Linked DNA regions of Homo sapiens: regions 1 and 2 are each linked to region 3. Evidence: promoter capture Hi-C in 16 types of primary human blood cells and fetal thymus (Javierre and others, 2016). All regions are on one chromosome and are shown on one strand. Each heading gives the region's core, a stretch centred on a gene start or on the middle of the fragment in contact. The rest is flanking DNA. Distances are from core to core; before and after follow the strand shown.

Region 1 (4,564 bases), core at 456-2,955, about 15 Mb after region 3:
TCCCGGAAAAGCATATTTTCCAGTGGAGTAAAATTTGGGAAGGAAGAACACTGGGTGTCACAAGACTCAGGTGACCTCCCCCAAGGGGGGGATCGAGAAAAGCAGTGGCTGTGAAGGGGAAGCCTGGGGAGCGAAAGGACCCGGCGTGAGGAGGACACAAGGTGGCAGGGGGTACGGTGTCTCAGGACAGGGAGGGTCTGCAGAATCCCAGGACCTGGGAGGAGAAGCGACTCCTTCAGGAGCCGGACGGCGGGCGCTCCCCTCCAGGGGCTGACGACGGAGAAGCTCCGGGGTCGCAACGGGCGGGAATCCACCTCCCGAGTGAGGACTCGACTTGGCGCAGGGCCGAAGCAGAGGTCAGTAAGGGTTTTAAGCAGGAACACGACCTGAGTGGGGTTGTCTACATGGTCCTAAGGCAGAAAGGCAGGGAGCAAGGAACAGCCTCAGAGAGATTTTTAAACCGAAAGGGAAGCAATTATCAGACTTACTTGGGGCGAAGGGGCTGTTGCTGGTATTTTAAGGTCCGTAGCGATCCCCAGGAAACGGGTATGGACAAGGGAAGACTGCCAAGTGCACGTTCGATTCAGGCAGACGGGGCGAAGCAAATGTTTAGTCCAGGTAGACGGAAACTGACGCGCAGCGCTGTGATCTTTTCCCCGCGCGATCTGCTTCCGGGTGTGCAGGAAGCTACACGCCCTGAGAAAAAAGACTGAGAGACCTGGGGCGGGAGAGGGGCCTGGGCGGGGTGCGACCCGCAAGGGAAAGGGCAGAAAGACTGGCCAGATTTGGGAACCCTGAAAGGGTGGGGCAAGGCTGATGCGGTAGTGGGCGGGGCCAGGTGGGCTAAGCGGGACGGGCGGTGTGGGCGGGACCTGTTTGGTGGGCGGGGCCTGTTATTCGCTCTGCCTTCCACCCAGCAAGTCTTTGTTCTCCCGATTTAGGAGTATTTGTGACTATTTCTTGTCCTGTGAAGCAGCGTTGCTTCCTGCCTATTTTAAGTTAATGTTTTAGACTTTAAGGTCAAAGCTTAAAGTTGTGGTCCACTTCTGTTGGAAACTAAGATGTTTTCTTCTTGTCAAGTTGAACTGATTTAAGTCAAAATCGATTTTTGCGAGCCTGGTGGACTCCATCGGGTCTTGCCAGTGAGGCTGAAGCCAGTTAAGGCTGAAGTTACTCAGTAGTCAGGGAACTAGGATCTCCGTGAAGATCTGATGTGCAGCCGTGGCTGGATCCAGGAACCCTGAAGACATTATGCTAAGCGAAATGTGCTAGACACAGAAAGACAAATCCTGCATGTGCTTACTTACATGTGCAATCTACAAACATCAAAATTACAGTAACAGAGTAGAAGGGTGGTTTCCAGGGCTGACGGTCTATCCTGTGCCTGTCCCACCATTGTATTTTGGAAGCAAATAGCTTCTTTGGCTTCACAGTTTCACAGCTGGACAGAAATTTTGCCTCAGGATGAACCACACTTTGAGTCTCACCCATATGTGATTCAGATAATATTTGGGTAATATTTGGGCCTTAGAGTTTGATACTGAAATGGATTAAGACTTTTGAAATGGGCCAGGAGCAGTGGCTCTGGCCTGTAATCCCAGCTCTTTGGGAGGCCAAGGTGGAAGGATTGCTTGAGCTCAAGAATTCAAGACCAACCTGGGGCAACATAGTAAGACCCTTGTCTCTACAAAAAATACAAAAATTAGCCAGGCATGGTGGCTCACGCCTATAGTCACAGCTATTTGGGAGGCTGAGGTGGGAGGATCTCTTGAGCCCAGGGGATCAAGGCTGCAATGAGTTGTCTTTGCACCACTGAACTGCTGCCAGGGCAACAGAGTGAGACTCTGTCTCAAAAAATAATAATAATAAGACTTTTGAGATGTTAGGATGGGGGTGAAGGGATCTTGCATGTGAGAAGGACATGAATTTTGGGAGTCCAGAGTACAGAATGTTATGAGCTGAATCACGTCCCTAAAAAATCATTGTTGGCCAAGCGCGGTGGCTCATGCCTATAATCCCAGCACTTTGGGAGGCCGCGGCGGGCGGATCACAAGGTCATGAGATCGAGACCATCCTGGTTAACACGGTGAAACCCTGTCTCTACTAAAAATGCAAAAAATTAGCCGGGCGTGGTGGCGGGTGCGTGTGGTCCCAGCTGCTCCGGAGGCAGAGGCAGGAGAATGGCGTGAACCCAGGAGGCGGAGCTTGCAGTGAGCCGAGATCCAGCCACTGCACTCCAGCCTGGGCGGCAAAGCGAGACTCTGTCTCAAAAAATAAATAAATAAATAAAATAAAATAAATCATTGTCTTTAAGTTCTAACACCCAGTACCTCAGAATATGACTGTATTTTGAAATAGGGCATTTAGAGGCTATTAAGTTAAACTAAGCTTGTTAGAATGGGCTCTGATGCAATCTGACTGATGTTTTGATAAGAGGAAATTTGGCTGGAAGCAGTGCTTCATGCCTGTAATCCCAGCACTTTGGGAGGTCAAGGTGGATGGATCACTTGAGCTCAGAAGTTTGAGACCAGCCTGGCCAACATGGTGAAACCCCATCTCTACTGAAAATACAAAAATTAGCCAGGTGTGGTGGCGCATGCCTTTAGTGCCAGCTACTCGGGAGGCTGAGGCAGGAGAATTGCTTGAATCTGGGAGGCAGAGCTTGCAGTGAGCCGAGATCGCGCCACTGCACTCCAGCCTGGGTGACAGGGTGAGACTCTGTCTCTTAAAAAAAAAAAAAGAAAAATTAGCCGGGTGTGGTGTCACGCACCTGTAATCTCAGCTACTTGGGAGGCTGAGGCAGGAGAATCGCTTGAACCCGGGAGGCGGAGGTTGCAGTGAGCCAAGATCGTGCCACTGCCCTCCAACCTAGGCTCAAAAAAAACAGTGTGTGGCACCTCCCCATTCTCTGTCTTCCTCCTGTCTGGGCATGTGAAGTACTTGCCTCCCCTTCACCTTCTGCCATAATTGTAAGTTTTCTGAGGCCTCTCCAGAAGCCAAGCAGATGCCAGCATCATGCTTCCTGTACAGCCTGCAGAGCCATGAGCCAATTAAACCTCTTTTCTTTATAAATTACCCAATCTCAGGTATTTCTTTATAGCAATGTGAGAACAAACTAATACACTGGCACTACAGGCATGTGCCACCACACCTGACTAATTTTCAAATTTTTTGTAGAGATAGGGTTTCACGTTGTTGTCCATGCTGGTCTTGAACTCCTGGGCTCAAGTGAGCCTCCTGCCTTGGCCGCCCAAACTGTAAAGTAGATAAAATTTAAAAAATGTATATTTTTCCAAGGCCGGGGGCTGTGGCTCACACCTGTAATCCCAGCACTTTGGGAGACTGACGGGGGCTGATCACGAGGTCAGGAGATCGAGACCATCCTGGCTAACATGGTGAAACCCCGTCTCTACTAAAAATACAAAAAATTAGCCAGGCGTGGTGGCACGCACCTGTAGACCCAGCTACTTGGGAGGCTGAGGCAGGGGAATCGCTTGAACCTGGGAGGTGGAGGTTGCAGTGAGCCGAGATCGCGCCACTGCACTCCAGCCTGGGGACAGAGTGATACTCCGTCTTAAAAAAAAAAATTTCCTTCAGATGAGTAGGTAATTAAGTAAGAAAGAAATATAAATCTTAAAAAAGGGCTGGGCATGGTGGCTCACGCCTGTAATCCCAGCACTCTGGGAGGCTGAGGTGGGTAGATCACCTGAGGTCAGGAGTTCAAGACCAGACTGTCCAACATGGTGAAACCCAGTGTCTACCAAAAATACAAAAATCAGCCCGGCATGGTGGTGGGCGCCTGTAATCCCATCTACTCAGACTGAGGCAGGAGAATCTCTTGAACCCAGGACAGGAAGGTTGCAGTGAGCTGAGATGGCACCATTGCACTCCAGCCTGGGCGACAGAGCAATACTTCGTCTCAATAAATAAATACTATTTTTCCTTCCTCGAGAAACTCAAAGAAGGCTGATCTGTATGTGATCCGCAATTGACTTTTCAGTCAGTGGTCCTTTGCTGTGACCCACAGGAGTGTGACATTCTATGGATGGATTCTTCTCCCTGAGACCAGAACTTCATCTTTTGCATATGATCAGAGGCTTTTAGAGGCTCTGCATTACTTTTCGGATCAACACCATTACACAAGTTTAGCCTAGAGACAGCTGACGTGGGAAGGTATCTTATGAACAAATACTGTTGCACTCGGCTCTCTTGCAGGGATCTTGCTGCCCCTTAATAATTTCCTCCAGGGCCACTGAAAGACGCTAGAATTTTTCCTAGATCTGTCTCCCACACATACATAGATTGGAATTTTTGGATAAAAGCTCTGTTTAGGCCGAGCTCGATGGCTCATGCCTGTAATCCCAGCAGTTTGGGAGGCCGAGGCAGGCGGATCCCTTGAGGTCAGGAGTTCAAGACCAGCCTGGCCAACATGGTGAAACTCCGTCTCTACTAAATAAAAAAATACAAAAATTAGCCAGGCGTGGTGGTGCATACCTGTAATCCCAGCTACTCGGGAGGCTGAGGCAGGAGATTCTCCTGAACCCAGGAGGCAGAGGTGGCAGTG
Region 2 (4,276 bases), core at 750-3,249, about 15 Mb after region 3:
TCAGGGCAAATGGGAAAAGGAATAAAGGATATTACGAAGGATACAGATGAAGAGGCAGATGGAAGGGATAGCACAGAGCAAGGTTTGTAGCAAGGGGCGTGGGACTTCCATGCCCTCCACGGAAGCTTATTAGAGACTCAGTTCACCACCCTCAGGCACCTCCACATGCTCAAGAATCTGTAAGTTCCCCAGAAGTTCACCAGTCCTTTTGAGTTTTTACGCTGGTTTCATTATGTGGGCATACTTGATTAAAACACTAACCACTGGTGATCAACTCAACCTTCAACTTCCCTGTTGCCAGGCAGAGCTAAAATTTCCAACCCTCAAATGACATGGTTAGTTGCCCTGGCAACCAGCCTCCCCCGTCCTAAGGCCAGCCAGAAGCCCCCAGTCACCAGCCATCTCAATGCCACACAAAAAGGCACTGTTTACTGAAGAGGTTCCAAGGCTTTTGGGAGACATGTGCCAGGAAACAGGACAAAGATCGATTATACATTTCTTATAAATCGTAACAATCATAGCTAGGCGCGATGGCTCATGCCTATAATCCCAGCACTTTGGAAGGCCGAGGCGGGCAGATCACCTGAGGTCAGGAGTTCAAGACCAGCCTGGCCAACGTGGTGAAAGCCTGTCTCTACTAAAAATACAAAAATTAGCCGGGCGTGGTGGCGGGCGCCTGTAATCCCAGCCACTCGGGAGGCTGAGGCAGGACAGTCGCTAGAACCCAGGAGGCGGAGGTTGCAGTGAGCTGAGATCGCACCACTGCACTCCAGACTGGACAACAGAGCTAGATTCCGTCTGGGGGATAGGAGGAAACTTTGATCCCCAAATGCTCAAGGAGACTGATGCTTAAGCAAACTAAATATTGCCTGAGAACGACTCCATACTTCTATATTTGAGTCCTTGTGGATAAACTGCAACCTAGCTTAACAGACAAAATTGAAAACCGAACTTAATCGTATGCACCTGTAACAATAGCTGAGTGGTGGCCAGTCCCAGCGGCCATACTCATAGACTGCTGAATGTTCCAACTGCGTTCAAATAAGGCAAACGCCGAATGGTAACCAATCTCACTGTTTCTGGACCTCGCTTCCGATTCCTGTATGTCACTTTACCTTTTTTGTCTATAAATTTGTTCTGACCACGAGGCACCCCTGGAGTCTCTGTTAATCTGCTGTGATTCTGGGGGCTGCCCAATTCGCGAATCGTTCATTGCTCAAGGAAACTCCTGTAAATTTAATTCGGCTTCAATTTTTCTTTTATCACTGATTTGAGTAATAATAAAACTCCGGTCTCCCCGCACAGCCGGCTCTGCATGAATTGCTCTTTCTCCATTGCAATTTCCCTGTCTTAACAAGTCGGCTCTGTCTAGGCAGCCGGCAAGGGTGGGCGGTTATAGTTTCACAACTCAACCCCAGCCAGGGGCCTGGGCTTGTAAAATACCAGATTTTACAAGCCTCTGAGCCCCACATGCCTGGGCCTCCCCGAAACACTTAACACACATCCCCGATTCACCCCAAAACCTACACCACACACCCTCGTACGCTGCCCAGCACCCCGGCTTCATCACCGACTTTAAACTGCAGCATTTGGAGTGATAATAATGGCGTCGGTGATAAAGCCGGCGTGCTGGGCAGCGTCCCCCTAGAGTTCTCCATCCAGTGATCCAGAGGCCTACTAACAGAGTGACCCTCAGAGACCCCAAACTCTGACGCCGAGTCTCAGTCGCTGAACTCGACAGACCTTTAACGCCCGACCACAAGAACTCTCCCACGCCGGACCGCAAAGGCACCCCAACCCAAAGGCTCCACCGCCCAGGCCGCCAGCTCTCCCCACAGGCTCCTCAGAAGCTCCCTACCCCTTTAACCTACTCCACGGAGAGACCCAAACACTCACCTGATTTTCTTCTGGCTACACCTAAATTCCCTGAATGCTTCCTTTCCTGGCCCTTAAACCCCGGCACTGGCCTATGGCGGCGGACGAGGGCGCGAGTCAATTCTGCCGCGCTAGGACGATGGGACATGGGCTTCTCTTCGAGGAGGTAACATGTCCGCGCCCTGAGCCACGGCTCTCTGGGCGCGGCCATCTTGGTAGATCTGCCGTACAGAAGGGAAACAGTTGTTCTTGTGTCATTAAACCGGGATGACTCTCCTGAAAGCAAAAATTTGAGGCGCAGGAGCATTTTCTAGAGTTTATCTGAACAAACAGCAATTCATGAATTAGGAAGCATCAAACCAAAAGAAGTCTCGCGCTTCTATGCTTAAAGCATTAGACACAAGTATTCACAGGGTGAGTGAAGGAGTAAAACAAAGAAATTATTTGATTAGTTACAATTATAAAAATGCATTTTTTTAAATTTGCCTTGGAAAGTCCCTAATGACATAATAGCATGTGAGTTGCCTACTTTTGATCGGTTGAGATTGAGTTTTGTCCTTCCCTAACACAAGCATTTACCAGAAATGACTCAAGTGAATTGTTGCTTATGTTTGCAGGTTAAGCAAGGTTAAGGCTGTTTTTAAGGCCTACTGGGTTTTGTTTGCTCAGGAGTTTTTGAATTCTGGTCTGCATTTTAATTTTGCTTTGACACAGGAGACAGTGAAATGGCACTGATGTGTTCCCTCTCCTGACACCTCAACCCCTGCACTGTGAGGTTGGAGCACTAACAACAGTGCACTGTGGGGAAAAGAAAGAGAGATCAGACTGTTACTGTGTCTATGTAGAAAGAAGTAGACATAAGAGACTCCATTTTGTTCCGTACTAAGAAAAATTCTTCTGCCTTGAGATGCTGTTAATCTGTAACCCTACCCCCAACCCTGTTCTCACAGAGACGTGTGCTGTGTTGACTCAAGGTTTAATGGATTTAGGGCTATGCAGGATGTGCTTTGTTAAACAAATGCTTGAAGGCAGTATGCTTGTTAAAAGTCATCACCACTCTCTAATCTCAAGTACCCAGGGACACAATACACTGCGGAAGGCCACAGGGACCTCTGCCCCAGAAAGCCAGGTATTATCCAAGGTTTCTCCCCATGTGATAGTCTGAAATATGGCCTCGTGGGAAGGGAAAGACCTGACCATCCCTCAGCCCGACACCCGTAAAGGGTCTGTGCTGAGGAGGATTAGTATAAGAGGAAGGAAGGCCTCTTGCAGTTGAGACAAGAGGAAGGCATCTGTCTCCTGCTCGTCCCTGGGCAATGGAATGTCTCGGTATAAAACCCGATTGTATGTTCCATCTACTGAGATAGGAGAAAATCGCCTTAGGGCTGGAGGTGAGACAAGCTGGCGGCAATACTGCTCTTTAATGCACCGAGACGTTTATGTATGTGCATATCAAAGCACAGCACCTTCTTCTTAAGCTTGTTTATGACACAGAGACATTTGTTCACATGTTTTCCTGCTGACACTCTCCCCACTATTATCCTATTGTCCTGCCACATCCCCCTCTCCGAGATGGTAGAGATAATGATCAATAAATACTGAGGGACTCAGAGACCGGTGCCGGCGCGGGTCCTCTGTATGCTGAGCACCGGTCCCCTGGACCCACTTTTCTTTCTCTATACTTTGTCTCTGTATCTCTTCTTTTCTCAGTCTCTCGTCCCACCTGACGAGAAACACCCACAGATGTGGAGAGGCAGGCCACCCCTTCACTGCACAAACCACACAGATATTCAGAGGCTCAAATGCAACCAAGGCTGTTGCGGGAAGTCAGGGACCCCAAACGGAGGGACCGGCTGAAGCCATGGCAGAAAAACATGGATTGTGAAGATTTTATGGACATTTATTAGTTCCCCAAATTAATACTTTTGTAATTTCTTATGCCTGTCTTTACTGCAATCTGTAAACATAAATCGTAAAGATTTCATGGACACTTATCACTTCCCCAATCAATATCCTTGTGATTTCCTATGCCTGTCTTTGCTTTAATCTCTTAATCCTGTCAGCCGAGAAGGATGTATATCGTCTCAGGACCCTGTAATAATTGTGTTAACTACACAAATTGTACAGCATGTGTGTTTGAGCAATATGAAATGTGGGCACCCTGAAAAAAGAACAGGATAACAGCAATTGTTCAGGGAATAAGAGAGAGAACCTTTAACTCTGACCGCCGGTGAGCCGGGCGGAACAGAGCCATATTTGTCTTCTTTCAAAAGCAAATGGGAGAAATATCACTGAATTCCTTTTCTCAGCATGGAACGTCCCTGAGAAACAGAATGCGCACCTAGGGGTAGGTCTCTGAACTGGCCTCCCCCGGGCGTACCTGTCTCTTATGGTCGAGATT
Region 3 (3,950 bases), core at 1,118-3,617:
CATAATTAAAAGATGTTCAGATGGAGCTGTACAGGAATGTGATGCTGGAGAACTAGAGCAACAGAGCCACATTAGGTATAGATCGCTTGCCTGTATAGTCCAAATTTTGTTGTTTTTGTTTTTTGGGTCTTTTTGTTTGTTTGTTTGTTGTATTTTGTTTTGTTTTAAGGAGCGGAGAGTTTAATAGGCAAGAAGGAAGGGAGAAGACAGAAGGAAGAAGTTCCCCCATACAGAGATGGGGGTTGGGGGGGTGGTGGCTCCAAAGCCGAAAGAGGAGGTCCCCTTGTTTTTTGGGGGTTTTTTGAGACGGAGTCTCACTCTGTCATCCAGGCTGGAGTGCAGTGGTGCGATCTCAGTTCACTGCAACCTCTGTCTGCCGGGTTCAAGCCATTCTCCTGCGTCAGCCTCCAAAGTAGCTGGGATTACAGGTGCACACCACCACGCCCAGCTAATTTTGTATTTTTAGTAGAGACGGGGTTTCACCATATTGGCCAGGCTGGTCTTGAACTCCTGGGCTCAAGTGATCCACCCACTTCAGTCTCCCAAAGTGCTGGGATTACAGGCGTGAGCCACCGCACTCATGCTTGGTTTTTTTGTTTTGTTTTGTTTGTAGAGAGTATGCTGTTCAGGCTGGTCTCAAACTCCTGAGCTCAAGTGATCCTCCTGCCTCAGCCTTCCAAAGTGCTGAGATCACAGGCATGAACCACCATGCCCGGCCCTTCCTGCCATTGTTAAAAGCTTCAGGATTATATTTTACATCAGCATTTCCTGTTGTCATACACTTCCTGCCATCATATTTCGGCAACCTCTACCACCTCCCAAAGTTTCTAGCTTAAAAAATTATTGATTTCCTCCTAGCTCCCCTTTCTGTCAGTTTTTTAATTTTATATTTGTTTTCAAATGAGTCCTCACATTGATTTTAAAAATTTAACAAGAGTATAGTGAAAAGGAAGTTCCCCTTTCACTATTTATCTTCCCCATATGCATCTATTATGACGGGTTTCTTTTTTAAACTACTTGGAGTACTCATAACTGATTTTGTACTCTAGTTCAGAAGAAATGTCTGAATGTTAAATGTTTACATAAAAAATGCTATTTTATTATATCAGTAATGGAGCTTCCCCCCTTTAAAACTGCTGCACCAGGAAGATACAACCTTGTTATCACAATTTAAAGAGAAAATGAGACTTGGAGGTTCAGATTCCTCCACAGTCATAGTATCAGCTACCCACGCAGTGACCCACATTCAGGTGATTACACACACTCATACACAGATCCATACACGATCTTGCCCCCCCCACCTCCACACACTCAATATGACCTCCCCACGCCCAAAGCTGCACACATCTTGACCTCACTTCTCTCACACACACACCAATCTGACCCGCACGCGGTTTCTTTCACTCAACTACCCAGACACCCCTCATCCCACCAGCACAAGCAGGCCCACCGCGGTCTCACACACACTCGAGCCTTCCTTTGCCCAGTCTCACATGCATGACTGGGATCGCGGATTTGTCCCCTTCCGACTCCCCATGCTGGTTCGGTCCCAGACGCTCAGGTGCCACATTGGGGTGCGCTCTCCCGGCTCCTCCACACGCTACGCAGCTGCCCGCCTCAAGAGCGTCTGCGTGCTTCCAGCGTTAAGTGGAATTCCAAGCAGCCTCCGGGGCACAGTTAGTCTGGTCACTGCGGCCAGACTGCCGCCTCAGGACCCAGAGAACGCAGCACACTTTAGTTGGGCCCATCTATCCCCGGCGAGGCTTGGACTACGTTTCCCAGGAGACCCTGCGGTCCAGTATGTCTCCCGAGGAGGGGCGGAAGCCCGGGAGCCGCCCTCTGAGGCTGGGCGGGGTGAAAGAAAGCTTGCCCCAGAGGACTTAAACAGGCAAGAAGGACTTGGTTAAAGACTATTGCAATAGTCAACTTCCAATACAACAGCAGCTGGAGATTTATAGCTAACGGGCTGGGTGAAGGAGTTAAAGGATGCTAAATTACTAAGAGGAAGTTAAGTATCAAGAGTGGGGGGATTGTTACTAAACTGGCTTAGCTGGATTCTTGCTGAAGTGCTGTTCGCAGGCTATGGAGGAGGCCTGGCCAAGCAAAAAGGGCTCAGAGGAGCCTGACTAAAGCTTGGTCTAGGGACTCCTTGTCAGGTGAGACTCCCGGAAGGCTCCGATGGGCAGCTCACCTCAAAGAGATAGTTTTGTTGGTGCCAGAGTCCGCGCCAGGGGAATCGGGATGGCTGGGCTGTAGCTTTCGGCAACCTGTCGCTTTCTGGACTACACTTCCCAGAAGCCTCTAGGCCCAGGGCACTCTCCCGCGATAACTAGATTGTCTCTTGAGGAGTGGGCGGGATCTTCCCGCGGATTTGGGCAAGCGGCCTTGGGGCTTTGTGAGATAGCTAGGGTCGACTTGTGTGGATTCTAGTAGAACGGAGCTGACCCTATCCGAACAGGCGTAAGTGAGGCGGCTCGGAGCCTGGCGCGACAGGAACTCCCGACCTGTGTGGGCTGCGTGGGGAACAGGCTAAGGAGCGATTGTGAGGAGTGTGTACGGTTGTGACTGGGGGCGTGTGTCTGTGCGACCGTGTATGGAACTGTGAGGGCGGGGAGGAGGACTTTTTGTTTATGTTTGTGCGGGTGTGAGTAGAGTTTAATTGTGACCGGGTTGGGCACTGTGTTTGCGAGTGTGAGGTTCCTGGACCGCGGTTGTGACTGTATGTCCCCTTGGGGTGTGTGTGTGTGTGTTTACTACCATTTGCCGAACTGTGTGTAGTATGCCTTAATTTTGAGGTTTGTGGCTGCTTCCGTGTGTGTGTGTGCGCGCGCGTTGGTGATATTGTTGATGGAGGGTGCGTGTGAATTTGTTGTCATTGTGACCCCAAGGTGTATGTCACTGGGAATTTGAGAGATGCCCACGGACTCTGTGGTTGTGTCCGTGTCTACCCCCGTGGTGTGTATGAGTGTGTGATTGTGTGTTGTGTTTAGGTTTGGGGTGCCTGTGACGTTTATGTCCCTGCGGTGTGAGTGAGTTTGTGTGACTATGTGTCCGTATAGCCAATGTAGGTATGGGGAGTCTTTGTCTTTGTGACTTCAGCCATTGGAGACCCCTGTGAGCTCAGGGACAGGTTCTGCCCAGAACGGCATTGACCCTACCGTTGTCTGTGATGCCCGGATTAAGCAGGATGCCCTAGACTTCTCTGACCTTCCTCTGTAGGTGATGGGCAGTAGGGGCTGAGCAAAGATAACTTCTGACATAGTCAAACCAACTCCCTCTCAGAAGAACCTGATGTTTCCTGACTGCTTTCTCCTTCCTCAGCCCTGCCCTGCTTGGATAGAGGCCTCCGAACAGGAGTAAAGAATGGCTGTTGAACATCCACAAGGCACCTGCAAGGTAGCTTGTCCTGTCCTCTTGTTTAAGAAAAATCCCTTTTTCTTTGTCAGGACATAGTTGCTTTCCTTCTCTTGAAAATTCTTGCCTATGAGATGACCTGATCCCTGGAGTTTCCATTTTGAGAAAATGTGGTGTCTTCAAACCCCACCTCCCACACCTGATTTTCCCTTACTGATTTGTCAGATGGTTTTAATTTTTCTTTTTCTTTTTTTTTTCTTTCTTTCTTTTTTTTTTTTTTTTTTTGAGACAGAATTACAGGCGTGAGCTGCTGTGCCCGGCCTTATCCTTCTACTCTTGATGGACATTTGTCTTGTAATTTTTGGCTACTACAGGCAGTGTGACTATGATCATTTTGTGCGCATATTTTGGTACACATTTGCTTGCATTTCTTTAGAATATATACCTAGTGATTAAATTGCTGATAGTGGCTGGATGCAGTGGCTCATGCCTGTAATCCCAGCACTTTGGGGGGCCAAGGCGGGCGGATCACGAGGTCAAGAGATCAAGATCATCCTGGCCAACATGAGGAAACCCCGTCTCTACTAAAAACACAA

Evidence for each region. Contacts are between HindIII fragments. The CHiCAGO score rates a contact against its expected background, and 5 or more counts as called.
Region 1: a contact is called between a fragment that was not itself captured here and the fragment with the promoter of ZNF345 in region 3, in 1 of 17 cell types (non-activated CD4 T cells). The highest score is 6.1, in non-activated CD4 T cells.
Region 2: a contact is called between the fragment with the promoter of ZNF649 here and the fragment with the promoter of ZNF345 in region 3, in 6 of 17 cell types (total B cells, total CD4 T cells, naive CD4 T cells and 3 more). The highest score is 9.5, in total B cells.

What each region holds. Positions count from the first base shown.
Region 1 is chr19:52,170,848-52,175,411 of GRCh38, forward strand. ZNF836 (zinc finger protein 836) reads right to left here and starts at 774. Exons shown (of 5, transcript NM_001102657.3): 1 at 489-774. RefSeq lists an enhancer at 173-312 and a silencer at 893-942. The HindIII fragment of the contact is 1,362 bases long and covers 1,025-2,386 here.
Region 2 is chr19:51,903,018-51,907,293 of GRCh38, forward strand. ZNF649 (zinc finger protein 649) reads right to left here and starts at 2,000. Exons shown (of 5, transcript NM_023074.4): 1 at 1,897-2,000. RefSeq lists enhancers at 133-678, 1,769-2,313, 2,032-2,151, 2,642-3,266, 4,150-4,276. The HindIII fragment of the contact is 3,228 bases long and covers 124-3,351 here.
Region 3 is chr19:36,848,509-36,852,458 of GRCh38, forward strand. It overlaps ZNF345 (zinc finger protein 345), which reads left to right and starts at 2,368. Exons shown (of 3, transcript NM_001242472.2): 1 at 2,368-2,460; 2 at 3,322-3,396. It also overlaps a transcript of ZNF790 not described here. RefSeq lists an enhancer at 1,891-2,130. The HindIII fragment of the contact is 2,588 bases long and covers 2,131-3,950 here.